5 separate regions of the Homo sapiens genome follow, and regions 1, 2, 3 and 4 are each linked to region 5. The links are contacts of gene promoters, found by promoter capture Hi-C in blood cells and fetal thymus (Javierre and others, 2016). All regions are on one chromosome and are shown on one strand. The core of a region is centred on a gene start or on the middle of the fragment in contact, and the rest is flanking DNA. Distances in the headings are between cores, read along the strand shown. Region 1 holds the start of ZNF665 (zinc finger protein 665). Region 2 overlaps ZNF347 (zinc finger protein 347). Region 3 overlaps ZNF665 (zinc finger protein 665). Region 4 overlaps LOC124904792 (zinc finger protein 480-like). Region 5 holds the start of ZNF350 (zinc finger protein 350).

Region 1 (5,500 bases), core at 641-3,140, 1.2 Mb before region 5:
GCTCAAGCACCCCTCCTGCCTCAGGCTCTCAAAGTGCTGGGATTACAGGTGTGAGCCACTGCTCTCAGCCTAACTGTAATTCTTAGATGCCTGGGTTCGGGGCTTGCTCTGTCATTTCTAGCTCTTGGACCTTAGGCCAGTTTCTTAGCGTATCTGTGACAGTTTCTTTCTTTTTCTTTTTTTTGAGACGGAGTCTTGCTCTCGCCCAGGCTGGAGTGCAGGGGCGCCATCTCGGCTCACTGCAAGCTCCGCCTCCCGGGTTCACGCCATTCTCCTGCCTCAGCCTCCCGAGTAGAGTAGCTGGGACTACAGGCGCCCGCCACCACGCCCGGCTAATTTTTTTGTATTATCATTAGAGACGGGGTTTCACCGTGTTAGCCAGGATGGTCTCCTGGTGACCATCGTGATCCGCCCGGCTCGTGATCCGGTCCTGACCTCGTGATCCGCCCAGCTCGGCCTCCCAAAGTGCTGGGATTACAGGCGTGAGCCACAGCGCCCGGCCGACACAGTTGTTTCCTAGTAAGATAGGAAAAGATCTTTTTCTCATGGGCTATTATGTTGTTATTTGAGTTAATACAGGTAAAGTATTCCGAATAATGCCTTGCACATAGTGTTCAGAAAAGTCAGTCATTGCTATTGCCATTATCATCACAGTTTTTACTTCTGGCCAGTGTTTCTGTAAAGCCACTGTGGACCTTGTCACCTCAGAAGACATCATTCGTGCTTTAGCTTATCTAGATACGGAGTATCACTTAGTGTGTTGAAAATAATATCTAACACTTCTATAGAGATCAGCTTGTGTTTGGGTTTTTATTTGTCTATTTATTGTATTGTCCACAAAACTGAAAACTCCACACAGATTTAGAGGCTATTATAACTACTTAGGGAAAAGTACAATAAAACAGAATTAGGGAGACATAACTTGCTCAAAAATGCCTTCACGCTGGGGCGGTGGCTCAGTGAGCCGAGATCATGCCATTGCATTCCAGCCTGGGCGACAAGAGCAAGACTCTTGTCTAAAAAAAAAAAAAAAAAAAAAAAAACAACAACAAACCTCACATATTCGTATTTAAGAATATAGGAAACACTGATTCAGTTTCTTCTACTGTTCTCTCACAACACAGAATGCTACAGTTAGCCCAGAGGTACTGGGTTTTCCCACACACACCAAGCAAGCAATCCTGCCACAGACACCAGGTGCGTGTTCTCTCATTCCGTTCCATTTTGCCGGGACATGGCATCAGATCCCACACGTTGAGGGCTCAGTCCCACAATAGTGCACACATTTCAATGCCAGTCTCAAGCAGAGGTTGTGACTTGTGCTTACAGATCAGATATAAATCCAGGAGTCCCTTGACCCCCTCCTCAGGTTCAACGAATTTGCTAGAGTGGCTCACAAAATACAGGGAAACACTTTACATAGATTTACGTATTATAAAGGATATTACAAAGTTGACAGAAGAACAGCCAGATGGAAGGGATCAGTGAGGTGAGGCATGGGAGAAGGGGCGTTGAGCCTTGGTGCCCTCCCTGGGTGCACCACGCTGCAGGAGCCTCCCAGTGTTCACCTATCCAGAAGCTCCGCTGAATCCTCTCCTTTTGGGTTGTTATGGCGCCTTCATTACATATGCATGATTGCTTATATTACTGGCCATTGGTTAAACTTTTAGATAGCCTAAGTTTTGTTTTTTTTTTTTTTTGGGAGAGACGAAGTCTCACTCTGTCACCCAGGCTGGAGTGCAATGGCGCGATATCGGCTCATTGCAACCTCCGCCTCCAGGGTTCAGGCCCCGCCCCGGCCCCGCCCACCCTATGCTCTCAGTCCCTCCCAACGCCTGGCCTTTCCCCACCGCAACCCGCCCCTTTGCCTACTGCGCGGGCAGTTTCTTGCAAACCCGGAAGCAGATCTCTTGGAGTGAAGGCTGTTAGTCGCCGCGTGAGTTTCCCTCTATCTAGATTAAACCTGCGTTTCGGAGTCCCCTGCTCCTCCGTACCCGATGTCCGGGGGTTCGTATAGCCCTTAAAGTCCCCGCACGGCTCCCTCCATTCCATGTAAATTCAGACTTTGCCGCGAGACTCTGGGGGTCGCATCGCTTTGGGTTAAAATCACACAGGCTGGTCCTGCCCGCGGTCTTTCGGCCTTCAGACCATGCAGACACCTCCTTTCCTGCGCCGTTTCCTGCTTAAAACCCTTTACTGACCTGCGCCCTGTGAAGTCCTCATCTGCGAAGTGGGTGCAGGATTTTACCGTCCCCTAACCTCGCCCTAGTCAGCTACTGGAGCGTTAGCGCCGCAGCCCCAGTCCCGGGGAGGCCGCGCCTCTGCCTGGTCCTGGGATCCTGCATACCCCACCCCTCTCCTAAGGCGCCGTCGCCCCCCACCTCCCTCCTCCTCGTGCCGGGCCCTGCTGCTCCCTAGGCCTCCCCTTCGCAGTCACCGTTTCCCCTGAGCCCGCGTTGGGGAGGTGCCCGGGCCTTGTCCTGTGATACCCGGTGTTCTTGCCTGCCCAGCTCCACCCGCTGGAAAATGTGCTCCTCCAGGATCCAGGTGTCTTACTCCAAACCCTCCCTGTGAATGTGTGGGCCAAGGGGATCAGGAGACAGAGAGGGGGGCTGAGAGAAAAGTAGAAAAACGGAGACAGAGGAAAGAATGAGGGAAACCAGTAAACATGGCAAAGTAGAGGATGGGTCAGGATTTACAAAGAGACAGTAAGGGTGAAAGAAGTCGCTGAGAAAGTAACAGGATGGAGAAACAACTGGAGAAATGTAGAGAAAAGCTCGCTGTCTAGAGAGATGAAGGACAGCAAGGTAGGGAGAGGGGCAGCTCCTCAGACGGAGAGTTAGGGAGAGGAGGGGGTATTTGGAGCCAGGATAGACAGAGCAGCGTGGTGCTGGGACAGCAAGAAGGGGCAGCTGGTGACAAGGAGAGCAGAGGGAGAACCACAGCAGGGGGAGACCTGGGATCTGGGGGTGCCAAAGAGTGGGGACAAGGAAGTGAAACAGGGAAGAGGGGATTTAACAGGGAGAGCAGAGATAAGGGAAGAAAGAGGCAGAAATAGATGGAGATTGGGGACAACCAAAAGACGGGTGAAAGAGGAATAAGAGGTGAAACAAGTTGCAAGAATGGAACAGAACAAGTGGAAGAGAAGGATAGAGGGAAGGAGAAACAGCAGGAGAAGAGAGGGGCTCAAAATGAGGAGCAGAGACCCAGGCTGAAACACAGAAAAGAAACAAGGAGAGAGAAGAAGAGAATGAGAGAGATGTACAGAATGAGGGAGGGAAACACACAGGAAGGAAGAAAGAGGGGGACTATGGCCCAGATGCATGGTGGTTTCATTGGATATGGATAATTACATCGTGATATATTGATTTCTGTATCCATAATCTAACAAATTTTTTTTTTCTTAAGACAGAATCTCACTCTATTTCCCAGACTGGCGTGCAATGGCACGATCTCGACTCACTGTAACTCCGCCTCCTGGGTTCAAGCGATTCTCTTGCCTCAGCCTCCCGAGTAGCTGGGATTACAGGCATGCACCACCACACCTGGCTAACTTTTGTATTTTTAGTAGAGACGGGGTTTCACTATGTTGACCAGGCTGGTCTCGAACTCCTGACCTCAGGTGATCTACCCACCTCAGCGTCCCAAAATGCTGGGATTACAGGCATGAGCCACTGTGCCCAGCCCCTAATAATCTAACAAATTTTATATGTATATATTTTGTTTCTGTTATGGAGATGCTGGTGAGAATCACAAAAGTTTTGTCTATAAGACATGTGCATTTTATAATTCCTGGCATCAGAGGTTAGCTTCTATTTGCAATCTCTGTTCTAAGAGAGCAGTGACTTGACTCATTCAGTTATGGGTCACCCTCTTTCCTTTTCCTAGGATGGGGTAATGTGTAGGCAAGTGTATGAGTGAGGAGGAAAAACCAAAGTGTTTTTCCCACTCTCATAATCAAGTAATGAACGCTCAACAAAGAATGCATCGCCTCTCATCACCAAAACGTGTGGGGTGGGGATTTCTCCTCACCAACACGCAGTTCTTGAACAAACACTACCTGACTGTCCAATAATTTAATTCAATTCGGACACTGTCTACCCAGAGTTAGCATTAGATCCCACTAGTTGAGGGTTCCCTCTTCAGATACCAGCCCCAAGTCCCAGATTCGGAGCTTCGGATCCATTGAGTATAAATTTGGGATTCTCCTCATCCCTTCCTGAGGTGCTATTAATTTGCCAGAGCAGCTCATAGAACTCAGGGAAACATTTTCCTTGGTTTACCCAATTGTTTTTTGTTTGCCGGTCTGTTTTTGAGACGGAGTCTTGCTCTGTCACCCAGGCTGGAGTGCAATGGCACGATCTTGGCTCACTGCAACCTCCGCTTCCTGGGCTCAAGCAATTCTCCTGCCTCAGCCTCCCAAGTAGCTGGGATTACAGGCGTCCGCCACCACACCCAGATAATTTTTGTGTTTTTAGTAGAGAAGGGGGTTCACCATGTTGGCCAGGCTGGTCTTGAACTCCTGATCTCAGGTAATCCACCCACCTTGGCCTCCCAAAGTGCCGGGATTACAGGCATGAGCTACCGCACCCGGCCTACCTAATTGTTATAAAGGATACTACGAAGCATACAGATGAATGGTTTTAGCAAGTTAATTGAATCCAAGGAAGGGGTTAAGAGAATCACGGTATTTATCTGGTGAGAGTGTAGCCAACAGCTACTAGTAGCATGTAGCACACTGAGATCTTCACCTGGGAGAACTGACAGTGTCAGAGTGGAGTGAAATTGTAGGACCCACCACTGGGAGTGCACTGCAGAACTGGTCATTGTGGGAAAAACTGCACACATTTTGGTGACTACAAGTGAAGTATTCTGGGTTGAGTGTGACAATAGTATGAACAGTTTAATTTTTTCCTGTCTCAAACAGTAAAGGGAAGAGCTCTCCAACGGGCCCACCCACCTGTCTTAAGGCCTGCAATCTCAACTCAGGAGGTACTGGGAATGGTCTGTCCCTGCTCCGGGCTGTTGCTGGCTGTGGGCGGCATGCCACCCAGGTGCCAAGGCAAGAGACAGAGAACACGAGCTGTTCCAGTATAATAAAATATAAAACAAGAATAGTTATACCAGATATAGATCTTAGATATGATTATATATGAATATCATTAATCATTAGTTTGTAGCAATTACTTTTTATTCCAATATTATAATAATCCTCGCTCTATAATCATAGCCTAGGAAAAACCAGGCCATACAGAGATAGGAGCTGAGGGGACATAGTGAGGTGTGACCAGAAGACAAGAGTGCGAGCCTTCTGTTATGCCCGGACAGGGCCACCGGAGGGCTCCTTGGTCTAGTGGTGACGCCAGCGTCTGGGAAGATGCCCGTTGCCAGGCGGACCGTGGTCTAGGGGTAGCGTAAGTGTCAAATGAAAACACCCGCTACTTAGCAGACTGGGGAAGGGAGTCTCCCTTTCCCCGGGGGAGTTTAGAGAAGACTCTAC
Region 2 (5,090 bases), core at 1,415-3,914, 1.2 Mb before region 5:
ATGGGAATGGATCAAAGCTGTGATCACAGGTAAGAGTTCAGATGGGTAGAGAAAATGCCGTTTATTAAATAGTGTTTGGGAAACTCTATGCAAATCTGAGAGTTCTGTGGGAAAACAAGTTTGAATTCTGTGACCTCAGAACAGAAATCTTTATTTGCCCCCTTTTGTCTATCCTTTAGACTTGTACTAGTTTATCCTTTCACCTTCCAGTGGTGCTGCAGCTCAGACAAAGGCAAAGTCTTTATCATGATGGACAACACTGTTTTCTAGCTTCTGAGAACTCTGGTTCCTTGACTCCGTGTGGCACAGGGAGGGCTGTTACAAAAGGGTTATTTCATCTCCTTTGGTGTTTCCTTCTGTAGTTGATTCTATCTGATGCCCAGTTCTCAGTCTTACAGATCCAAATTCTATATAGTTAGCTAAATTTTAAGAGTGTTTTAGTGGAGTTGTTAGGTTTTTCTAAATATAAAATCATGTCATCTGCAAAGAAGTATATTTTGACTTCTTCCTTTTCAATCTGTATGCTTTTTATTTCTTTCTCTTGCCTAATTGCTTTGGCTAGAACATCAATGCTATGTTGAATAGAAGTAGTGAAAGTGGACATCCTTGTCTTTCAGATCTTAGCAGAAAGGCTTTCAGTTTTTTCTTATTTAGTACATTCCTGCTGGATTTGTCATATATGGCTTTTATCATGCTTAGGTATGTTTTTTCTGTACCCAAGTTGTTGAGACTTTTTATTAGGAAGAGATAATGATTTTATTGAGTCATTTCCCAGCATCTATTGAAATGATAATATGCTTCTTGTCTTTGATTCTGTTGATGTGATGAATCACATTAATTGATTTGTGTGTATTAAACTATCCTTGCATTCCTGGAATAGATCCCACTTGATCATGGTGAATGTCTTTTTAATGTGTTGTTGAATTCTATTTTGTCAAGGATTTTTGCATGTATATTCATCAGGGGTAGTGGCCTATAGTTTTCTTTTTGTTGTGGTGTCCTTGTCTGCTTTTTGGTATCAGGGTAATGCTGGTCTGATAAAATGAGTTTGGAAATATGTGCTGCCTTCAATTTTTGAAATGGTTTGAGTAGAATTAGTATTCTTTATTTTTTCTTTTCTTTCTTTATTATTATTATTATTATTATTTGAGATAGTCTCTCTCTCTCTATCTCACCCAGACTGGAGTTCAGTGGCACAATCATAGCTTACTGCAAACTCAGACTCTTGGGCTCAACTGACCCTCCCTCCACATCCTCCCCAGTAGCTGGGGTTACAGGCACACACTACCACGCCCAACTAATTGTGTTTTTTTGTTTGTTTGTTTGTTTGTTTTTGAGATGCAGTCTCGTTCTCTTGTCCAGGCTGGAATGCAGTGGCGTAATCTTGGCTCACTGCAACCTCTGCCTCCCAGGTTCAAATGATTCTCCTGCCTCTGCCTCCCAAGTAGCTGGGATTACAGGCGTGTGCCACCACACTTGGCTGATTTTTGTATTTTTAGTAGAGTTGGGGTTTCACCATGTTGGCCAGGCTGGTCTTGAACTCCTTACCTCAGGTGATCCACCTGCCTCAACCACCCAAAGTGCTGGGATTACAGGCGTGAGCCACCGTGCCTGGCCAAATCCTTTTTTATTTTTTAGTAGAGCCGAGGTCTTGCTGTGTTTCCCAGGCTGCTCTCAAACTTCTGGCATCAAGCAGTCCTCCCATCTTAGCCTCCCAAACTGTTGGGATTACAGGCGTGAGCTAACATGCCTAGCCAGTATTAGTTCTTCTTCAAGTGTTTGGTATAATTCAGCAGTGAATCCATTCAATCCTGGGCTTTTCTTCTACATGAAATTTTTTTTTTTTCAGCTTCAATTTTGTTATTAGTGTCTTCAGGTTTTCTATTTCTTCATGTTTCAATCTTGATAGGTTGTATGTGTCCAGAAATGTATCCCTTTCTTCTAGGTTTTTAAATTTGTATGTAGTTGTTCATAATTGTCCCTAATGGTCCTTTGTGTATCTATGGTATCAGTTCTAATGTTTTCTGTTTTGTCTCTGATTTTATTAATTTGGGTGTACCTCCCCCCACCTTTTATTTCAGTTTAGCTAAAAGTTTGTTGATGTTGCTTATCTTTTAGAAAAACCTACTTTTCAAGCTAGGCATGGTGCCTCATGCCTGTAATCCCAGGAACTTGGGAGACTGAGAAAGGAGAATTGCTTGAGGCGGGGAGTTCAAACCAGCCTGGGCAACATAGAAAGAGACCCCATCTCTAAAAATAAAACGAAAATTAGCCAAGCATGGTAGTGCGTTTCTGTAGTCCCAGCTACTTGGGAGGCTGAGGGAGGAGGATCAGTTAAACCCAGGAGTTCAAGGCTGCAGTGAGTTATGACTGGGCCACTGCACTCCAGCCTGTGTGAGAGAGATAGACCCCATCTCTAAAAAAAAATTTTTTTAGGCCGGGCACGGTGGCTCACACCTGTAATCCCAGCACTTTGGGAGACTAAGGTGGGTGGACCACCTGAGGTTGGGAATTCAAGACCGGCCTGACCAACATGGAGAAACCCCATCTCTACTAAAAATACAAAATTAGCCGGGCGTGGGGGCACATGCCTGTAATCCCAGCTACTCGGGAGGCTGAGGCAGGGGAATCTCTCGAACTTGGGAGGCAGAGGTTATGGTGAGCTGGTATCATGCCACTGCATTCCAGCCCAGGCAACAAGAGCAAAACTCCATCTCAAAAAAAAAAAAATTTTTTTTTAATCCTACTTTTCATTTTATTGATCTTAGATTTTTTTTTAGTCTTTATTTTGGTTAGTTCTACTGTGATCTTTATTATTCCTTTCCCTCTACTACTTTTGGGTTTGGTTTGTTCTTGCTTTTCTAGTTCCTTGAGTTGTATCATTAGGTGTTTTATTTGTTGACTTACTGTTTTTTTGATATAGGTGTTTATTGCTACAAACTTTCCTCTTTTTGCTGCTTTTTCTGTATCCTATAGATTGTGCTGTTTTGCATTTTAATTTGTTTCAGGAAATTTTTAGCCAGGCATGGTGGCTCATGCCTGGAATCCCAGCACCTTAGGAGGCTGAGGCAGGCGGATTGCTTGAGCTCAGGAGTTTGAGACCTGCCTGAGCAACATGTCCAAACTCTGTCTTGGTAAAATATACAAAAATTAGCTGGGCATGGTGGTGTGTGCCTGTGGTCTCTGCTACTTGGGGGGCTGAGGTGGGTGGATCACTTGAGCCCAGGAAGTGGAGGTTGCAGTGGGCTGAGATCACACCATTGCACTCCAGTGTAGGTGACAGAGCAAGACCCTATCTCAAAAAAAAAAAAAAAGAAATGTTTTATTTCCTTCTTAATTTCTTCATTAACTCAGTGGCTGTTCAGGAATATGTTGTCTAATTTCCATGTGTTTTTGTATCTTCTTTTTTTTTTTTTTTTCTAGACAGACTCTTGCTCTGTCACCCAGGCTGGAGTGCATGGCACAATCTTGGCTCACTGCATCCTCCACCTCCTGGGATCAAGCAATTCTCCTGCCTCAGCCTCCCGAGTAGCTAGGATTATAGGCGTGTGCCACCACGCCTGGCTAATTTTTGTGTTTTTAGTAGAAACAGGGTTTCACCATGTTGGCCAGGCTGGTCTTGAACTCCTGACGCCAGGTGATCTGCCCAACTTTGGCCTCCCTAAGTGCTGGGATTACAGGTGTGAGCCATCACGCCCAGCCATGTTTGTGTATCTTCTGAGGCTCTTCTTGTTGGTTTCTAGTGTTATTTTATTGTGGTCAGAAAAGATACTAGATACAATTTTGACTTTTTTGAATTTATTGAGACTTGTTTGGTGTCTTAACATATAATCTATCCTGAAGCATAATCCATGTGCTGATGAGAAGAATATGTATTTTGCAACAGCTGGATAAAATGGTCTGTAAACGTCTGTTAGGGCATGGAACATACCTGTAATTTTAGCTACTTGGGAGGCTGAGGAGAGAGGAATGCTTAAGGCCAGAAGTTCAAGGCTGCAGTGCACTGTGAACTCACCTGTGACTAGGCAATGGACCACAGCCTGGGCAACATAGGGAGATCCCATCTGTTTAAAATAGAAAAAAAATTTAAAAAGTCTTTTTTTAGGTCCATTTAGTCTGCAGTATATTTTAACTCTAATTTTTTTTTTATTGGTTTTCTGCCTGGATGACCTATTCATTACCAAAAATTGTGTTTTGAAGTCCCCTAATATTATTGTATTGCTACCTGTCTCTCCCTTTAGATTTATTAACATTAGCTTTACATATTTGGGTGTGTACTTATTTATTATGTCCTTTTGCTAAGTTGATCCTTTTCTCATTATATACTGACTTTGTCTCTTTTTACACTTATTGACTTAAAGTCTATTTTATCTAAGTATACCTACTACTGCTCTTTTTTGATTTCTAGTTCCATGAAATATCTTTTTCCATCCCCTCACTTTTTGTCTACATGTATCCTTATAGGTGAAGTGAGTTTGTTGTAGGCAACATATAGTTAGCTGTATGTTTTATAATCCATTCAGCAGGCCTCTCTCTTGTAATTGGAAAATTTAGTCCATTTCTATTTAATGTTATTATTGATAGGTAAGGACTTATACTACCAGAGAAATCACTTAAACACAAAGGAAGACAGTAAGAAAGAAAGCAAGAGAGAAGTTAGAAAACAATTAGAAAAGAAGTAACAAAACGGCAGTATGTTTTAATTCATTGCTTTTTATTATTAATATGTCTATTACAGGCTTTTACTTTGTGGTGACCATAAAATAAGGCTTACGTCTCACACCAGTTAGAATGGCGATCATTAAAAAGTCAGGAAACAACAGGTGCTGGAGAGGATGTGGAGAAATAGGAACACTTTTACACTGTTGGTGGGACTGTAAACTAGTTCAACCATTGTGGAAGTCAGTGTGGCGATTCCTCAGGGATCTAGAACTAGAAATACCACTTGACCCAGCAATCCCATTACTGGGTATATACCCAAAGGATTATAAATCATGCTGCTATAAAGACACATGCACACGTATGTTTATTGTGGCACTATTCACAATGGCAAAGACTTGGAACCAACCCAAATGTCCAACAATGATAGA
Region 3 (5,538 bases), core at 2,148-4,647, 1.2 Mb before region 5:
CAGAGGCTGGAGAATCACTTGAACCAGGGAAACAGAAGTTGCAGTGAGCCGAGATCACACCACTGCCCTCTAGCTTGGGCATCAGAATGAGACTCTCTTTCAAAATAAAAACACAAATCTATCATAAAAAATTAAAACTTATACACACACTTACTGCATGTGACATACAGTACAAAAATCAGCTGGGCGTGGTGGCAGGCACCTGTAATCCCAGCTACTCGGGAGGCTGAGGCAGAGAATTGTTTGAACCTGGGAGGCGGAGGTTGCAGTGAGCCAAAATCACGCCACTGCACTCCAGCCTGGGTGACACAGTGAGACTCCGTCTAAAAAAAGAAAAAAAAAAAAAAAATATATATATATATATATATACACACACACACACACAAATGTAAAGATATAATAATCATAATTGTATAGAACTAATTTTAGTACATAGTGTACTGCCATACAATTTCATAGCCACCTCCTATTGCTATTACATGGAGCTCAAGTGTTGCAAGTATTTGCTTAATACACTCTGTAACGCTAATCATCTTTAAGTAGTTCATCTCTCCAGTAAATTGCATATCATAATAAAAAGTGATCTCTTGCCGCATGCGGTGGCTCAAGCCTGTAATCCCAGCATTTTGGGAGGCCAAGGTAGGCAGATCATGTGAGGCCAGGAGTTCGAGACCAGCCTGGCCAACATGGTGAAACCCCGTCTCTACTAAAAATATAAAAAATTAGCTGGGCCTAATGGTGGGCACCTGTAATCCCAGCTACTTGGGAGGCTGAGGCAGGAAAATTGCTTCAACCCGGGAGGTGGAGGTTGCAGTGAGGTGAGATTGTGCCACTGCACTCCAGCCTGGTGACAGAGCAAGACTCCGTCTCGAAAACAAACAAACAAACAAACAAAAAAGGAATACAGTATATAATACATATAACATAAAAAATACAAGATACATTCTAATCGACATTATATGTTTATTAGTAAAGCTTCCAGTCAATCGTAGGCTATTAGTGGTTAAGTTTTTGGGGAGTCAAAAGTTATACACAGATTTTCAACTGAGTGGAGGGTTGGCATTCTTAACCCCTACATTGTCCAAGGGTCAAGTATAGATCCAAAGGATTTAAATCAGCATATCTATGACGTATCTGCATTCCATGTTTAATGCAGCATTGTTCACAATAGTCGAGTTATGAAATCAAACTACGTGTTCATTAACAGATGAATGGATAAAGAAAATGATGGAACACTGTGTAGCCTTTAAAAGAAGGAAGTTCTGTCTGCCAGAACATGGATGGACCCCGAGGATATTTTGCTAAATGAAATAATCTAGGCACAGAAATACAAGTACTGCACCTTCTTACCTATATGTGGAATCCAAACCTCTTGAACTCATAGAAAGAAGAACGTTGGTTACAAGAGGGTGGGGTTGGGGAGATTAGGAAGATGTTTGTCGTTTCAACACAAAGGTTCAATTAAACAAGAGTAAATGACACATTTTTCACATGATGGATGTGGTAATAAGCGTGATTCCATCATTCCACATTCTATATATGCATCATGACATCATTTTTTCCCCATAAATATATACACCTGTAGTTTGCCATTATACAATAAAAGTTTTTTTTAAAAAAGTTATATTCCATTCCTCACACCAGTTAGAATGGCAATCATTAAAAAGTCAGGAAACAACAGGTGCTGGAGAGGATGTGGAGAAATAGGAACACTTTTACACTGTTGGTGGGACTGTAAACTAGTTCAACCATTGTGGAAGTCAGTGTGGCGATTCCTCAGGGATCTAGAACTAGAAATACCATTTGACCCAGCCATCCCATTACTGGGTTTATACCCAAAGGACTATAAATCATGCTGCTATAAAGACACACGCACACGTATGTTTATTGCGGCACTATTCACAATAGCAAAGACTTGGAACCAACCCAAATGTCCAACAATGATAGACTGGATTAAGAAAATGTGGCACATATACACCATGGAATACTATGCAGCCATAAAAAATGATGAGTTCATGTCCTTTGTAGGGACATGGATGAAATTGGAAATCATCATTCTCAGTAAACTATTGCAAGAACAAAAAACCAAACACCGCATATTCTCACTCATAGGTGGGAATTGAACAATAAGAACACATGGACACAGGAAGGGGAACATCACACTCTGGGGACTGTTGTGGGGTGGGGGGAAGGGGGAGGGATAGGCTTTAGGAGATACACCTAATGCTAAATGACAAGTTAATGGGTGCAGCACACCAGCATGGCACATGTATACATATGTAACTAACCTGCACATTATGCACATGTACCCTAAAACTTAAAGTATAGTAATAATAATAAAAAAAGAAATATTTCCATTAAAAAAATTTTTTTTAAAGCCATCCAACCTATTTTCCAAAGTGGTTGTAGCCTTTTACATTCCCACTACCAGTGTGTGAGAATTTTAGTTTTTTCACATCCTTGTTAACACTTGGTATTGCTAGTTTTAAATTCCAGCCTTTCTAATCAACATTTAGTAGTTTAATTTGTATTTTCCTAATGACTATGATGTTGAATATCTTTTAATGTGCTTATTATCTATATATATTAATATTTTCTTTTGTGCAGTGTATGTTCAAATCATTTTCCAATGTTTAAAATTGGGCTTTTTGTTTTCTTAATATTGAACTTTGAGAGTTCTTTGTATATTCCAGATACAAAGTCTTTATCAGATTTGTGCTTTGTGAATATTTTCCCTCAGTCCGAGTCTTCATTCTTTTAACAGTGTGTCTTTATAAATTAATTCTTTTTTTTCTTTTATGGATCATGATTGTGGTATCATATCTAGGAAATCTTTGCTTGATCCGAGGGCTCCACAGATTTTTCCTCATGTTGGTTTTCTAAAAGTTTTATGGTTTAGATTTTACATTAGGTTTTCATCTGATCTATTTGAGTATATTTTTCTATATGGAATGAGGTATAAACAAAAGGGTTTTTTTGCATATGAAGATCTAATTGTTTCAGCACCATTTTTTAAAAAGACTGTCTTTTCTCCATGGAATTGCCATTTATTCTTTGTCAAAAATCAGTTGTCTATATAACGTGAGTCTATTTCAGTATTCTCTATTTCATTCCATTGATCTATTTGATATTTGTCTAATCAACAATAATCACACTGTCTTGATGACTACACTTTTATAATGAAAGCAGGTAGTGATAGTGTTACAACTTTCTTCTTTATCAAAATTGTTTTAATTATGCTAGATCCTTTCCATTTTCCTATGAATTTTAGAAAGCCTGTTAATTTCTCAAAAAATACATGCTGGAATTTTGGTTGGGATTGTGTTGAATCAATAGGCTAAATGGGGAGTGTTGCTGTTTTAACAATATTGAGTCTTCTAAATGCTGAACAAGATATATTTAGCTTTTCATTTATTTAGGTCTTCTTTAATTCCTCTCTGCAATATTTTATAGTTTTTAGTGTATAGGTTCTTCATATCTGCTGTCGGACTTTTCTCTAAGTATTTAATGTTTTTAAAGCTATTGCAAACTGCATTTTAGAAAACTTTCTGATTATTCATTGCTAGTATATAGAAATAAAATTGATTCTTTGGGGTATTGATAATGTATTCTTCAACCTTGCTAAACTCACTAGTTCTAGCAGCATTTTTGTAGAGTATATTGAATTTTCTCAAGGATGATTATGTTATCTGCAAATAAAGACAGTTTTATTTCATAAAAAAAAATTATATTCCAGTTCTTATATCCTGTGCTGGTTCTGAAGTAGAACTCCTCTTTTCTTTCTTTCTTTCTTTTTTTTTTTTTTTTTTTTTTTTTTTGAGAGGGAGTCAGGCTGTGTCGCCCAGGCTGGAGTGCAATGGCACAATCTCGGCTCACTGCAAGCTCCACCTCCTGGATTCACGCCATTCTCCTGCCTCAGCCTCCCGAGTAGCTGGGACTGCAGGCGCCCGCCACAACGCATGGCGAATTTTTTGTATCTTTAGTAGAGACGGGGTTTCATCGTGTTAGCCAGGATGGTCTCGATCTCCTGACCTCGTGATCCACCCGCCTCGGCCTCCCAAAGTGCTGGGATTACAGGCGGGAGCCACCGGCGCCCGGCAGACTCCTCTTTTCTCAAGAGAAATTGTTGGCCAAGCACCCTGGCTTACGCCTGTAATCCCAGCACTTTAGGAGGCTGAGGTGGGTGGATCACGAGGTCAGGAAATCGAGACCATCCTGGCTAACACGGTGAAACCCCGTCTCTACTAAAAATACAAAAAATTAGCCGGGCGCGGTGGCGGGCGCCTGTAGTCCCAGCTACTCGGGAGGCTGAGGCAGGAGAATGGCGGGAACCCGGGAGGCGGAGCTTGCAGTGAGCCGAGATCGCGCCACTGCCTGGGTGACAAAGCGAGACTCTGTCTCCAAAAAAAAAGAGAGAGAAATTGTTGACAATCCACAGACTATAACTTCCTGTAAACACGGTTACTAATTCTTGCCTACTGCTTATATCCTGAGTTGCTAAAATATTTTCTTAATTTCGATTATTATTGATAGAGGATGGTTTTTTACCATTTGTAAGAAATACAACTGTTGGGGCTGGGCGCAGTGGCTCACTCCTGTAATACCAGCACTTTGGGAGGCTGAGGCGGGGGGATCACCTGAGGTCGGGAGTTCGAGACCAGCCTGACCAACATGGAGAAACCCTGTCTCTACTAAAAATACAAAATTAGTCTGGCCTGGTGGTGCATGCCTGTAATCCCAGCTACTCAGGAGGCTGAGGCAGGAGAATCGCTTGAACCTGGGAGGCGGAGGTTGCGGTGAGCCGAGATTGCACCACTCACTCCAGCCTGGGCAACAAGAGCAAAAGTCCTTCTCAAAAAAAAGAAAGAAAGAAAGAAAGAAATATAACTGTTATATACCACTTGTTAATGTTGCAAAATGTTTGCTCTGTGTGGGTATATAGGGGTATGTAGTTTTATAACAGGTATTCAGAAAAATAGTTTTTTCTGACATTTTAAAATTGAATTCCTCCTCGTTTTTTCAGTGCTATTATTGTTTTCCAATTCAAAATTACTAGTTCTTTAATTATTCATTACATATGTTTGCTGTGAGTTATTTGCCATTAGAGTATATCATGTTGTGCTTCAGCATTTACTTATGCATAACAAATATGCTTTAAATAGGCACAATCTAAGAATTATTTCTCTTGAATTCTGTGACAGCCATATAAAATATACTGCCAATTGGTAGCCTTGGGTCATGGTTGAAAAATACTCCTTTCAGGGCTAATATGGGTTTGCACAATATGAGTGTTTTGTTCACAGAATGTTTAAAACTAGGATCCCCTACTATTTGAATTACATGTTACCACCTTTTCTTTGATAAGGAATCCTGTTCCTTTTGTGTTCTGGAAAATTATGGTTCTGAAGAATCGTAAGTCTGTTCAACATAACTATTACTTTTGGTGTAACATTAGGTTTTTCAATGGGAAATAGTTATTTACCTACTATAGTTAACTGGAAATCTATGGTTGTTTATATCTTACAGATATCTCTTGTA
Region 4 (5,602 bases), core at 2,784-5,283, 1.2 Mb before region 5:
CCCAAAGACAAGGACATTTGATAAAAAGCCTTACCACTTTCATTACATTTGTGAGGTTGCTCTCCAGTATAAATCCTGTGTTGTGCCAGTTTTGACCACTGGGTAAAAGACTTAGCATGGGCTGGGCGCAGGAGCTCAAGCCTGTAATCCCAGCACTTTGGGAGGCTGAGGCAGGCAGATCACGAGGTCAGGAGTTCGAGACCAGCCTGGCCGATATGGTGAAACCCCGTATCTACTAAAAAATACAAAAAATTAACCGGGTGTGGTGGCACGCGCCTGTAGTCCCAGCTACTTGGGAGGCTGAGGCAGAATTGCTGGAATCCAGGAGGCGGAGGTTGTGGTGAGCCAAGATCGGGCCAATGCACTCCAACCTGGGCGACAGTGCAAGACTCCATCTCAAAAAAAAAAAAAAAAAAGCTTTAGCATGCATGTTACTTTGATTTCTCTAAAAGATGTATACTCTGTTTTTTTGTTTTGTTTTGTTTTTTGAGACGGAGTCTTCCTCTGTCGCCCAGGCTGGCGTGCAGTGGCATGATCTCAGCTCACTGCAACCTCCATCTCCCAGGTTCAAGCAATTCTCGTGCCTCAGCCTCCTGAGTAGCTGGGATTACAGGCACCTACCACCACGCCCAGCTAATTTTTGTATTTTTAATAGAGACAGCGTTTCGCCATGTTGGCCAGGGTGGTTTCAAACTCCTGACCTCAGGTGATCCACCCACCTCAGCCTCCCGAAAGTGCTGGGATTACAGGTGTGAGCCACCGCGCCCGGCAAAAGATGTATACTCTGATGTCCAGTGCACTGTGAAACCTGAAAAGAGCCTCTGCCACATACCTTATATTTACATGGTTTCTCTTCAATATGAACTCTCTGATGTCTTGTAGTACTTGAACTCATGGTAAAGTTTTTCCCATGCTCATTGGATTTCTAAGGTTTCTCCCCAGTACGAATTATTCTGTTCCCCAACTTTTGATCCTCAGATAAAATCCTTGTCACAGACATTGCATTTGTGTGCCTTTGCCCCAAGATATATTAGATACTCTTATCTAATGAGTAGCAAGCACTACTTTAAAACACTGCTACATTCATTGCATTTACAAGTATGATCTATTTGGTGAGTCCTGAGTTTAGGGCCATTCTTAAAAGCCTTGCTACATTCAGTACATTTGGAAAGTTCTCTCCAGTATGAACTATCTGATGATTAATGAAGCGTGAGCCTTGAGTAAAGGCTTTGCCACATTCATGACATCTGTAGGATTTCTCTCCAGTATGAATTCTCTGATGATTTACAAGGTGTGAATTTTGACTGAGGACCTTGCCACACACATTTGTAAGGCTTCTCTTCAGTACAAATCCTATGATAACTTTTGAAATGTGAATTTTGACTGAAGACTTTGCCATATATGTCATATTCATATGGTTTCTCTCCAGTATGGATAATCTGATGTATAGTGAGGTGAGAGGCCTGGGTAAAGGTTTTTCCACACTCATCATACTTGTGAGGTTTCTCTCCAGCATAGATTTTTTGGTGAATCCTGATGTCCGCCCATTGTCTAAAGGCCTTGCTGCATTTGGTACATTTGTATGGCTTCTCTCCAGTTTGAATACTCTCATGATGTCTAAGGTGGGACCACTTCACATAAGCCTTTCCACACTCATTACATTTGTAAGGTTTCTCTCCAGTATGAATTACCTGATGGTTAGTTAGGCTTGAATGCCCAATAAAGGTTTTACCACACTCATTACACTTGTAAGGTTTCTCTCCAGTGTGAGTTCTCTGATGGTCCACCAGACTTGAATTTTGAATAAATGCCTTACTACATTCATTACTTTTGTTTTGTTTCTCTCCAGAATGAATCCTGTGATGTTTTACAATTTTGAACTCTGAAAAAAAAGCCTTGTCCCACTCATTACATTTATAAGGTCTCTCTCCATTATGGATGACCTGATGTTTAGTTAGGTTTGAGCGCACGCTAAAGGCTTTGCCACACTAATTACAACTTGTAAGTTTTCTCTCCAGTGTGAATTCTCTGATGATTTTCAAGGTATGAATTTTGACTGAAACTTTTGCCACATATATCACATTTATATGGTTTCTGTCCAGTATGGATTCTCTGATGTCTAGTAAGGTGGAACATCCTATTGAAGGTCTTGCCACACTCATTACATCTGTAAGGTTTCTCTCCAGTATGAATTCTATGATGACTTGCTAGGTTTCCAATTTGCCTGAAACCTTTGCCACATATATCACATTTATATGTTTTCTGTCCAGTATGGATTCTCTGATGTGTAGTAAGGTTGGTCATCTTATTAAAGGTCTTGCCACACTCATTACATCTGTAAGATTTCTCTCTAGTGTGAATTCTCTGATGATTTTCAAGGTATGAATTTTGACTGAAATCTTTGCCACATGTATCACATTTATACGGTTTCTGTCCAGTATGGATTCTCTGATGTCTTGTAAGGTGGGACCTGTAATTAAAGGTCTTGCCACAATCACTACATTTGTAAGGTTTCTCTCCAGTATGAATTCTATGATGACTTGCTAGGTTTGCAATTTGCCTGAAACCTTTGCCACATATATCACATTTATATGGTTTCTGTCCAGTATGGATTCTCTGATGTCTAGTAAGGTGGAACATCCTGTTAAAGGTCTTGCCACACTCGTTACATCTGTAAGGTTTCTCTCCAGTATGAATTCTATGATGACTTGCTAGGTTTCCAATTTGCCTGAAACCTTTGCCACATCTATCACATTTATATGGTTTCTGTCCAGTATGGATTCTCTGATGTGTAGTAAGGTTGAACGTCTGATTGAAGGTCTTGCCACACTCATTACATCTGTAAGGTTTCTCTCCAGTATGAATTCTATGATGACTTGCTAGGTTTGCAATTCGCCTGAAACCTTTGCCACATATGTCACATTTATGTGGTTTCTGTCCAGTATGGATTCTCTGATGTGTAGTAAGGTTGGACCTCTGATTAAAGGCCTTGCCACAATCACTACATTTGTAAGGTTTTTCCCTAATGTATGCTTTCTGGTCTTGTGTGAGTAATGAAGGATGCATAAAATCATTCCTGTATATATTAGAAATGCTGGTGTTGACACAAGGAAGATTTGTTTGAAGTAATGAAACTGAGGACCCACGGGTGACAGACTTCTCAATTTGATTACATTCATAAATTTTCCTTTCAATTTGAAATCCCTGCAGTTCAGCCAGATGCAACCAAAAGCTTAGTTCAAGCTGATTTTCAACTGGCTTATTTCCTGCATTCCTTCCATCACCTTGATCTCTTCTTCCAGTGATGTTTTTAATTTTAATTGCAGGTATTTCTCTGTAATTTCTCTCATCATTGTGACACTGACACTCAAAGTCATGAATATTTTGCTGCATTTCTCTGAAGTAAAAATCTTGGATGTCATGGATTTCATGTCTTTCCAACATCACTGCTTGGAATACTTTTCCTGTGCTATTGTTCTCTTTTGGTGGTAATTCCTTGATCATATGTGTAGGAGAGACATCTACAAGATATTTAAAAAACAGGTTTTCTATTAACTACAGTTGGCAAATCAGTAGTTCATATTGAAAAATATATCGGCCGGGTGCAGTGGCTCACGCCTGTAATCCCAGCACTTTGGGAGGCCAAGACAGGCAGATCACCTGAGGTTAGGAGTTCCAGACCAGGTGGCCAACATGGTGAAACCTCATCTCCATTAAAAATGCAAAAATTAGGGATTTGCTGGCAAGATGGCCAAATAGGAACAGCTCTGGCCTGCGGCTCCCAGCGAGATCGACACAGAAGGCAGGTGATTTCTGCATTTCCAACTGAGGTACCCACTTCATCTCACTGGAATTGGTTGGATAGTGGGTGCAGCCTACAGAGTGCAAGAGAAAGCAGGGTGGGGCGTCACCTCACCAGGGAAGTGCAAGGGGTTGGGGGATTTCCCTCCCTAGCCAAGGGAAGCTGTGAGGGACTGTGCCATGAGGAACGGTGCACTCTGGCCCAGATACTGTGCTTTTCCCACAGTCTTCACAACCGGCAGACCAGGAGATTCCCTCCAGTGCCTACGCCACCAGGGCCCTGGGTTTCAAGCACAAAACTGGGTGGACGTTTAGGCAGACACCGAGCTAGCTGCAGGAGTTTTTTTTTCATACCCCCGTGGCACCTGGAACACCCGTAAGACGGAACTGTTCACTCCCCTGGAAAGGGGGCTGAAGCCAGGGAGCCAAGTGGTCTGGCTTGGGGGGTCCCACCCCCACGGAGCCCACCAAGCTAAGATCCATGGACTTGAAATTCTCACTGCCAGCACAGCAGTCTGAGGTCGACCTGGGACACTTGAGCTTGGTGGGGGGAGGGGCATCCGCCATTGCTGAGGCTTGAGTAGGCGGTTTTACCCTCACAATGTAAACAAAGCTGCCGGAAAGTCTGAACTGGGCAGAGCCCACCACAGCTCAGCAAGGCCACTGCGGCCAGACTGCCTCTCTAGATTCCTCCTCTCTAGGCTGGGCATCTCTGAAAAAAAGGCAGCAGCCCCAATCAGGGACTTATAGATAAAACCCCCATCTCCCTGGGACAGAGCACCTGGGGGAAGAGGCGGCTGTGGGAGCAGCTTCAGCAGACTTAACCGTCCCTGCCTGATAGCTCTGAAGACAGCAGCGGATCTCCCAGCACGGCGTTTGAGCTCTGATAAAGGACAGACTGCCTCCTCAAGTGGGTCTTTGGCCCCCCATGTATCCTCACTGAGAGATACCTCCCAGTAGGGGGCCGACAGACACCTCGTACAGGAGAGCTCTGGCTGGCACCTGGCGGGTGCCCCTCTGGGATGAAGCTTCCAGAGGAAGGAACAGGCAGCAATCTTTGCTGTTCTGCAGTCTCTGCTGGTGATACCCAGGCAAACAGGGTCTGGAGTAGACCCCCAGCAAACTCCAGCAGACGTGGAGCAGAGGGGCCTGACTGTTAGAAGGAAAACTAACAAACAGGAATAGTATCAACATCAACTAAAAGGACATCCACTCAGAGACCCCATCTGAAGGTCACCAATATCAAAGACCAAAGGTAGATAAATCCACAAAGATGGGGAGAAACCAGCACAAAAAGAACCAGAATGCCTCTTCTGTTCCAAAGAATCACAACTCCTCACCAGCAAGGGAACAAAACTAGGAGAATGAGTTTGACGAATTGACAGAAGTAGGCCTCAGAAGGTGGGTAATAACAAACTCCTCTGAGCTAAAGGAGCATGTTCTAACCCAATGCAAGGAAGAAAAGAACCTTGAAAAAAGGTTAAATGAATTGCTAACTAGAATAACCACTTTAGAGAAGAACATAAATGACCTGATGGAGCTGAAAAACGCAGCATGAGAACTCCATGAGGCATACATAAGTATCAATAACTGAATTGATCAAGCAGCAGAAAGGATATCAGAGATTGAAGATCAACTTAATGAAATAAAGTGAGAAGACAAGATTAGAGAAGAAAGAGTGAAAAGAAATGAACAAAGCCTCCAAGATATATGGGACTGTGTGAAAAGACCAAATCTACATTTGATTGGTGTACCTGAAAGTGATGGGGAGAATGGAACCAAGTTGGAAAATACCCTTCAG
Region 5 (5,126 bases), core at 2,007-4,506:
TCTAAGTATTCCTTCCTTACTGTAATTGATAATTCTTTTTCCACTTCCTTTGACAAAATAATGTAGTTTTGCTTCTTTTTTTTTTTTTTTTTTTTTTTTTTTTTGAGACAGAGTCTCACTCTCTCACCCAGGCTGGAGTTCAATGGCATGATCTTGGCTCACTGCAACCTCCGCCTCCTGGGTTTAGGTGATTCTCCTGCCTCAGCCTCCCAAGTAGCTAGGATTACAGGCACGCACCGGCATGCTCAGCTAATTTTTGTATTTTTAGTAGAGACGGGGTTTCACCATGTTGGCCAAGATGGTCTTGATCTCCTGACCTCGTGATCTGGCCACCTCAGCCTCCCAAAGTGCTGGGATTGCAGGCGTGAGACACCACGCCCAGCCAGTTTTGCTTTTTAATATTTAGCAATATCCATTTAAATTCATCTTTGTATATAGGGTAAGGGTTAATTTAAAGTTCAGCCTATGGTTGCCCAGTTGATTCAACAGTATTGAAAACACTGTCCTCTTTCCATTAAATTGATTTTGAACATTTGTAAAAATCAGTTGCCTGTTCTTGTGTCCATTTCTTGACTCTATTCTGTTGATGTGCGTGTCTATCACTCCACTAATAATCTACGGTCACTCCCATCAGAAATGACATAATATGCTCTATGAGGTAAAACAGCTATGTTACCTCATATAAAATGTTCAAAGCCAGAACCTGGACTTTGGGAAATGTCCCATATCCCTCTCCGGAAGCCCGCCTCCCAGTCTCTCGGTGTTCTTAGAGATGGCGAAGGATGGGGTTGCAGCACCAGAATTCCAGAATCGGAAGTAGGTTCTGATACGTGTTCAGCCTTTGGCAGCTGCTACTGTAGCCTTGAAAGCCTGATGCTGCGTGTGAATCCGGATGGGGAGCTTGTGGGGACGACCATGAAGTGGAAACGCATGTGAATGTCCGTGTTCAGGGGTTTTATTTCAGTTTAGTCACCGAGGAATATGGGTGTGAGAAAGAGACCCTTGGGATGTCAAAGGTTAAGGCTTAGTTTTAAGAGTTTAATGACTGAGGGTCCCACGGACAGAGCTTGAGGTCTATATGTTCACTTTTCATGAGTCTCAGTAATAGAAAACTGGGGAAAGTGTGTCTCAGTGAATGCTGTTTTTTGCTCAGATTTGCAATTTAATATGGGGCTCAGATACAGAGAAGCCCGAGCTAGGAAGAGGAGTGGCGTGAATGAAAGGTCTAGGGGGAGGAGTGTCAAAGGAGTGCCTCTGTGGTAAGTTTTAAATTGAATTTGAAGGCAATTTTATTTAGAGGAAGACGGGGCTTGTCTGTGTTTGAGAATGTAATGAGGCTGGAGGCTTTCAGGTGTGCAGTTGAAGGTTAGTGGTTGCTTTGAGACTAACTGGATGCTGGAAACACTTCCTGTCAGTCTTTCAAGTCCAAATCTGTCCTGAAGGTTTCTATTTAAAAACTTTTTCTTCCTAGGTCCACTATTCTCATTGTACCCATAAAAATCAGAGTAATTCAGGGTGACGAAGTGGTGTCTTTACCGAGGAGTCTTGCTCTGTCGCCCAGGCTGGGGTGCAGTGGCGCGATCTCGGCTTACTGCAACCTCCGCCTCCCGGATTCAAGCGATTCTCCTGCCTCAGGCTCCCGAGTAGCTGGGATTACAGGCGCGCGCCACCGCGTCCGGGTAATTTTTGTATTTTTAGTAGAGACTGGTTTCGCTTTGTTGGCCAGGCTGGTCTGGAACTCCTGACCTCAGATGATCCGCCTGCCTCGGCCTCCCAAAGTGCTGGGATTACAGGTGTGAGCCACCGTGCCCCACTTCACTTTCTTAAATGTTGTGTTTAGAAGCACAAACTTAAAAAAAAATCAAGTCCACTTTATTAATTTTATTTTGTTTTGTGGGTCATCCTTTACTCTCCTCTCAGAATTAACTCACGTCCATGAGGATTATCTCCCTTTTCCTTCTCTAAGTTTTATACTTTCTCTTAAACTTAGATCTATGATCTATTTTGAGTTAACTTTTGTGTATGGTTTGAGGGTCCTAACTCATTTTTCTGGATGTGGATATCCAATTATCCCAGTGCCGCTTGTTGAAAAGACTATTCTTATTGAATTGTCTTGGCACTTTTGTCAAAAACTCTTAACAATATTTTTATACTCTCAATTCTGGCTCTGCTCTTCCCATTGGCACCTTTACTAAAAGTGGCCTTTCTAGGAGGCCCAATTCCTTTAGTCTGTCGTGGCCAGGCTCACATCGTAATTCATTCTCAAAATCTCTTTTCTCTCCTCTCCTCTCCTCTTTTCTCTTCTTTTCTCCTCTTTTCTCTTCCTTCTCCTCCTCCTCTTCCTCCTTCTTCTTCTTCTTTTTTGTAAATAATAATCATTTTTTCGAGGCCAGGCGCGGTGGCTCACACCTGTAATCCCAGCACTTTGGGAGGCCGAGACAGGCAGATCACGAGGTCAGGAGGTCGAGATCATCTTGGCCAACATGGTGAAAGCCAGTCTCTACTAAAAATACAAAAATTAGCTGGGCGTGGTGGCGCGTGCCTGTAGTCCCAGCTACTTGGGAGGCTAAGGCAGGAGAATCGCTTGAACCAGGGAGGCAGAGGTTGCAGTGAGCCCAGATCTCGCCACTGCACTCCAGCCTGGCGACAGAGCAAGACTCCGTCTCAAAAAAAATTATAATTTTTTTCTTTCTTCACCACCCGCCCCCCCGAATACCTGCTATTTTTCTGTTCTTAAAAACCGCTTCCTGCAAGCTAATTTTCGCCAGACGCTTTCCCGTGGGTGTCTGCCTACCTGATGTGTTGCCTTTTCCCTTTCTACCTGATCTGTTACCTTTTCCATTTCCAATTCATTCTCTGGGATACCTACACCTGGCTGCACTGTTACTTGTCTTTTTCAAAACCTTTTTTTTTAAATTTAACAAAGTGGATGGAAAAGCGCTAAAGGCAATTTAGCTTGCCCCATATTTGCCTGATAAAGCCTGAGTCTCTGAAAATCTGCCCCCTTTCGCAAGACTTTAAGTGCCAGGAAACGAGGCGATTTCAGTGACTTCTCTTCTTCCCTGGCTCCTGGCTCAAAAACCTGCCACTGCCTTCTGTGCGTCCAATTTTCAAACATGGCTGCCGTCAGGAGCCACGGCTATGGGCGCGGCCATTTTACAGAGTAGGAAATGCCGTAAATGCGCTTGTCCTTGCTCTTTTAAACATTTTAGGTTCTCCTCGGCCGCCGTAGGTGGACCATAAACCCGTGCGAGGACTCCAGAAGTAGGAGCAGTTTACGGAAGTGTAACGTTGAGGCCCTTCTTGTGTATCTGGAGAAAATAGAGGTCAGTGTGTGGTTTTGTCCCTGAAAGTTTTTTGTCCTAGTTCAGGTTTTGTCTCAGTGGAAGGTTTGGGAGATCTGAGGACGTGGTGTACCCTGGACCACATAGTTTTTGGCAGGAAGACTGGGGAGCGCCGGGGTATAGGCATTTGGGAGGTACCTGGTGGGAGTCTGTGATCCCCCTGTCTGTGGTCCGCGTGCCTTTGGTGTGAGTACAGTGACTAAGGGTCTGTAGTGATCAACGGCCGTGTCCTAACTGTCAAGGTATGGATCACTCTGCTTGTAAAGGATGGAGGTGGCGATTAGGATCGATGCGGCGTCTGCTTCGGGTTCAGGATTTAATTTGGAACTCAGTGATGTTGGAGTCTGGGAGGATGTCCATCGCTGTAGAGTGTCTGGTCCGTGGTTCGGATGAGTAAGAGGCATGGGGCCAGTGTCTGTGGTACAAAGGCTTGTGAGGGCTGAAGCTTTCGAGACTTTGGAGCCCTGGGTCCTGGGTTGAGGTTCGAACCTCGGTTACTGGGGCAAAAGGCGACACAGCCCCCAGCATTAGTTCGAAACCATATATCTACTCTTCTGATCCTTGGGGTGGCTATTTACAGATCGGGGGGTCAAGTTCAGTCATACCCTCCGATTATATATTGTCTATGGCTGCAAAGGCAGCGGTTGAGTTGTTGTGACAGAGACCTCGTGGCCGGCAAAATCGAAAATGTTGCCAACCTCTGCATTCACTTCTTTTATTTTTTATTTATTTTTTTTATTTTTTGAGACGGAGTTTCACTTTTGTCTCCCAGACTGGAGTGCAATGGCGCGATCTCGGCTCACTGCAATCTCCGCCTCCCGGGTTCAAGCGATTCTCCTGCCTCAGCCTCCTGAGTAGCTGGGACTACAGGCCCACGCCACCACGCCCGGCTAGTTTTTGTATTTTTAGTAGAGACAGGGTTTTACCACGTTGGGCAGGTTGGTCTCGAACTCCTGACCTCAGGTGATCCGCCCACCTTGGCTTTCCAAAGTGCTGGGATTACAGGCGTGAGCCACCGCGCCCGGCCTTCACTTCTTAATATATAGTGAGTGTTGCTTGCCCGCCTTATATTCACACTTTCTTAACAGAATCTCCATTTCGTGAAGTATTCATCCCTGTGGCAAGGCGACCCAAATCCCAGTTTCTTAGTAAGGCCTTGTTGGTCTTAGCCAATCTTGCTGGTTCCAATTGCCATTGCTAGTGATAGGTTTGACATGGAAATGAGCTTAGGCGTATGGTGCAATTCTAGCCAACTATGTATGTGAAAATCTGCCTGGGAGTTTCTGAGGGAGCATTTTCTTTTTTAAATATGTAATTTCTTGAATCTCTTTTTCCATGTTCGTGATGATATCGCCTGAAAATAACATTAATTTTCTGTCTTACTTTGTAATGCTTATAATTCATTCTTATCTTAATGCATTGGCTCAACTTTCCAGTATAAAGTAGGAAAATAGGGTGTTAGTGGACGTTCTTGTTTTATTACCCACCTGTAAAATTCACCCGTTGTGTTGTCTGGAGTTAACACCTTTCCTGGAGGTAAACTGTTTGGTATGGTTGATCTCTTCCTTTACTTTGTTAATTTTTCTACATTTATATATTTTAAATGTACAATTTAATTATCATGGAGGCAATATATGTATAAGCAGTCATTGCCCAGGTCAAGAAATAGAATATGGTCAGCACACCAGTGGTGTTCTGTGAGTCTTTTTCCATTCTCACACCGAAAAGTATTTTAGGCTTTTCTTTATATAATTAATCATTATTTATCATTGTAGTTAATAC

The links. The method cuts DNA at HindIII sites, captures the fragments that hold promoters and counts their contacts. A CHiCAGO score of 5 or more calls a contact.
Region 1: a contact is called between the fragment with the promoter of ZNF665 here and the fragment with the promoter of ZNF350 in region 5, in 2 of 17 cell types (non-activated CD4 T cells and activated CD4 T cells). The highest score is 9.2, in non-activated CD4 T cells.
Region 2: a contact is called between a fragment that was not itself captured here and the fragment with the promoter of ZNF350 in region 5, in 2 of 17 cell types (naive CD8 T cells and non-activated CD4 T cells). The highest score is 6.0, in naive CD8 T cells.
Region 3: a contact is called between a fragment that was not itself captured here and the fragment with the promoter of ZNF350 in region 5, in 1 of 17 cell types (non-activated CD4 T cells). The highest score is 5.3, in non-activated CD4 T cells.
Region 4: a fragment that was not itself captured here is called in contact with the fragment with the promoter of ZNF350 in region 5 in 4 of 17 cell types (non-activated CD4 T cells, total CD8 T cells, naive CD8 T cells and 1 more); the score reaches 8.1 in non-activated CD4 T cells.

Annotation. Positions count from the first base shown.
Region 1 is chr19:53,189,748-53,195,247 of GRCh38, reverse strand. It overlaps ZNF665 (zinc finger protein 665), which reads left to right and starts at 1,890. Exons shown (of 4, transcript NM_024733.5): 1 at 1,890-1,936. RefSeq lists an enhancer at 1,925-2,074. The HindIII fragment of the contact is 17,049 bases long and covers 1-5,500 here.
Region 2 is chr19:53,143,620-53,148,709 of GRCh38, reverse strand. It overlaps ZNF347 (zinc finger protein 347), which reads left to right. Exons shown (of 5, transcript NM_032584.3): 4 at 1-29. Among named protein-coding and RNA genes, the nearest start is that of ZNF347, 13 kb to the left of the region's middle. RefSeq lists silencers at 667-867, 887-1,087. The HindIII fragment of the contact is 7,508 bases long and covers 1-5,090 here.
Region 3 is chr19:53,166,336-53,171,873 of GRCh38, reverse strand. It overlaps ZNF665 (zinc finger protein 665), which reads left to right. Exons shown (of 4, transcript NM_024733.5): 4 at 5,527-5,538. Among named protein-coding and RNA genes, the nearest start is that of ZNF347, 10 kb to the right of the region's middle. The HindIII fragment of the contact is 4,840 bases long and covers 978-5,538 here.
Region 4 is chr19:53,208,900-53,214,501 of GRCh38, reverse strand. It overlaps LOC124904792 (zinc finger protein 480-like), which reads right to left. Exons shown (of 5, transcript XM_047439805.1): 4 at 3,695-3,875; 5 at 3,552-3,555. The coding sequence ends at 3,552. It also overlaps the pseudogene LOC100419845 and the pseudogene ZNF818P. Among named protein-coding and RNA genes, the nearest start is that of ZNF665, 18 kb to the right of the region's middle. The HindIII fragment of the contact is 1,597 bases long and covers 3,235-4,831 here.
Region 5 is chr19:51,984,970-51,990,095 of GRCh38, reverse strand. ZNF350 (zinc finger protein 350) reads left to right here and starts at 3,256. Exons shown (of 5, transcript NM_021632.4): 1 at 3,256-3,326. RefSeq lists enhancers at 3,090-3,329, 2,916-3,791. The HindIII fragment of the contact is 6,623 bases long and covers 1-3,791 here.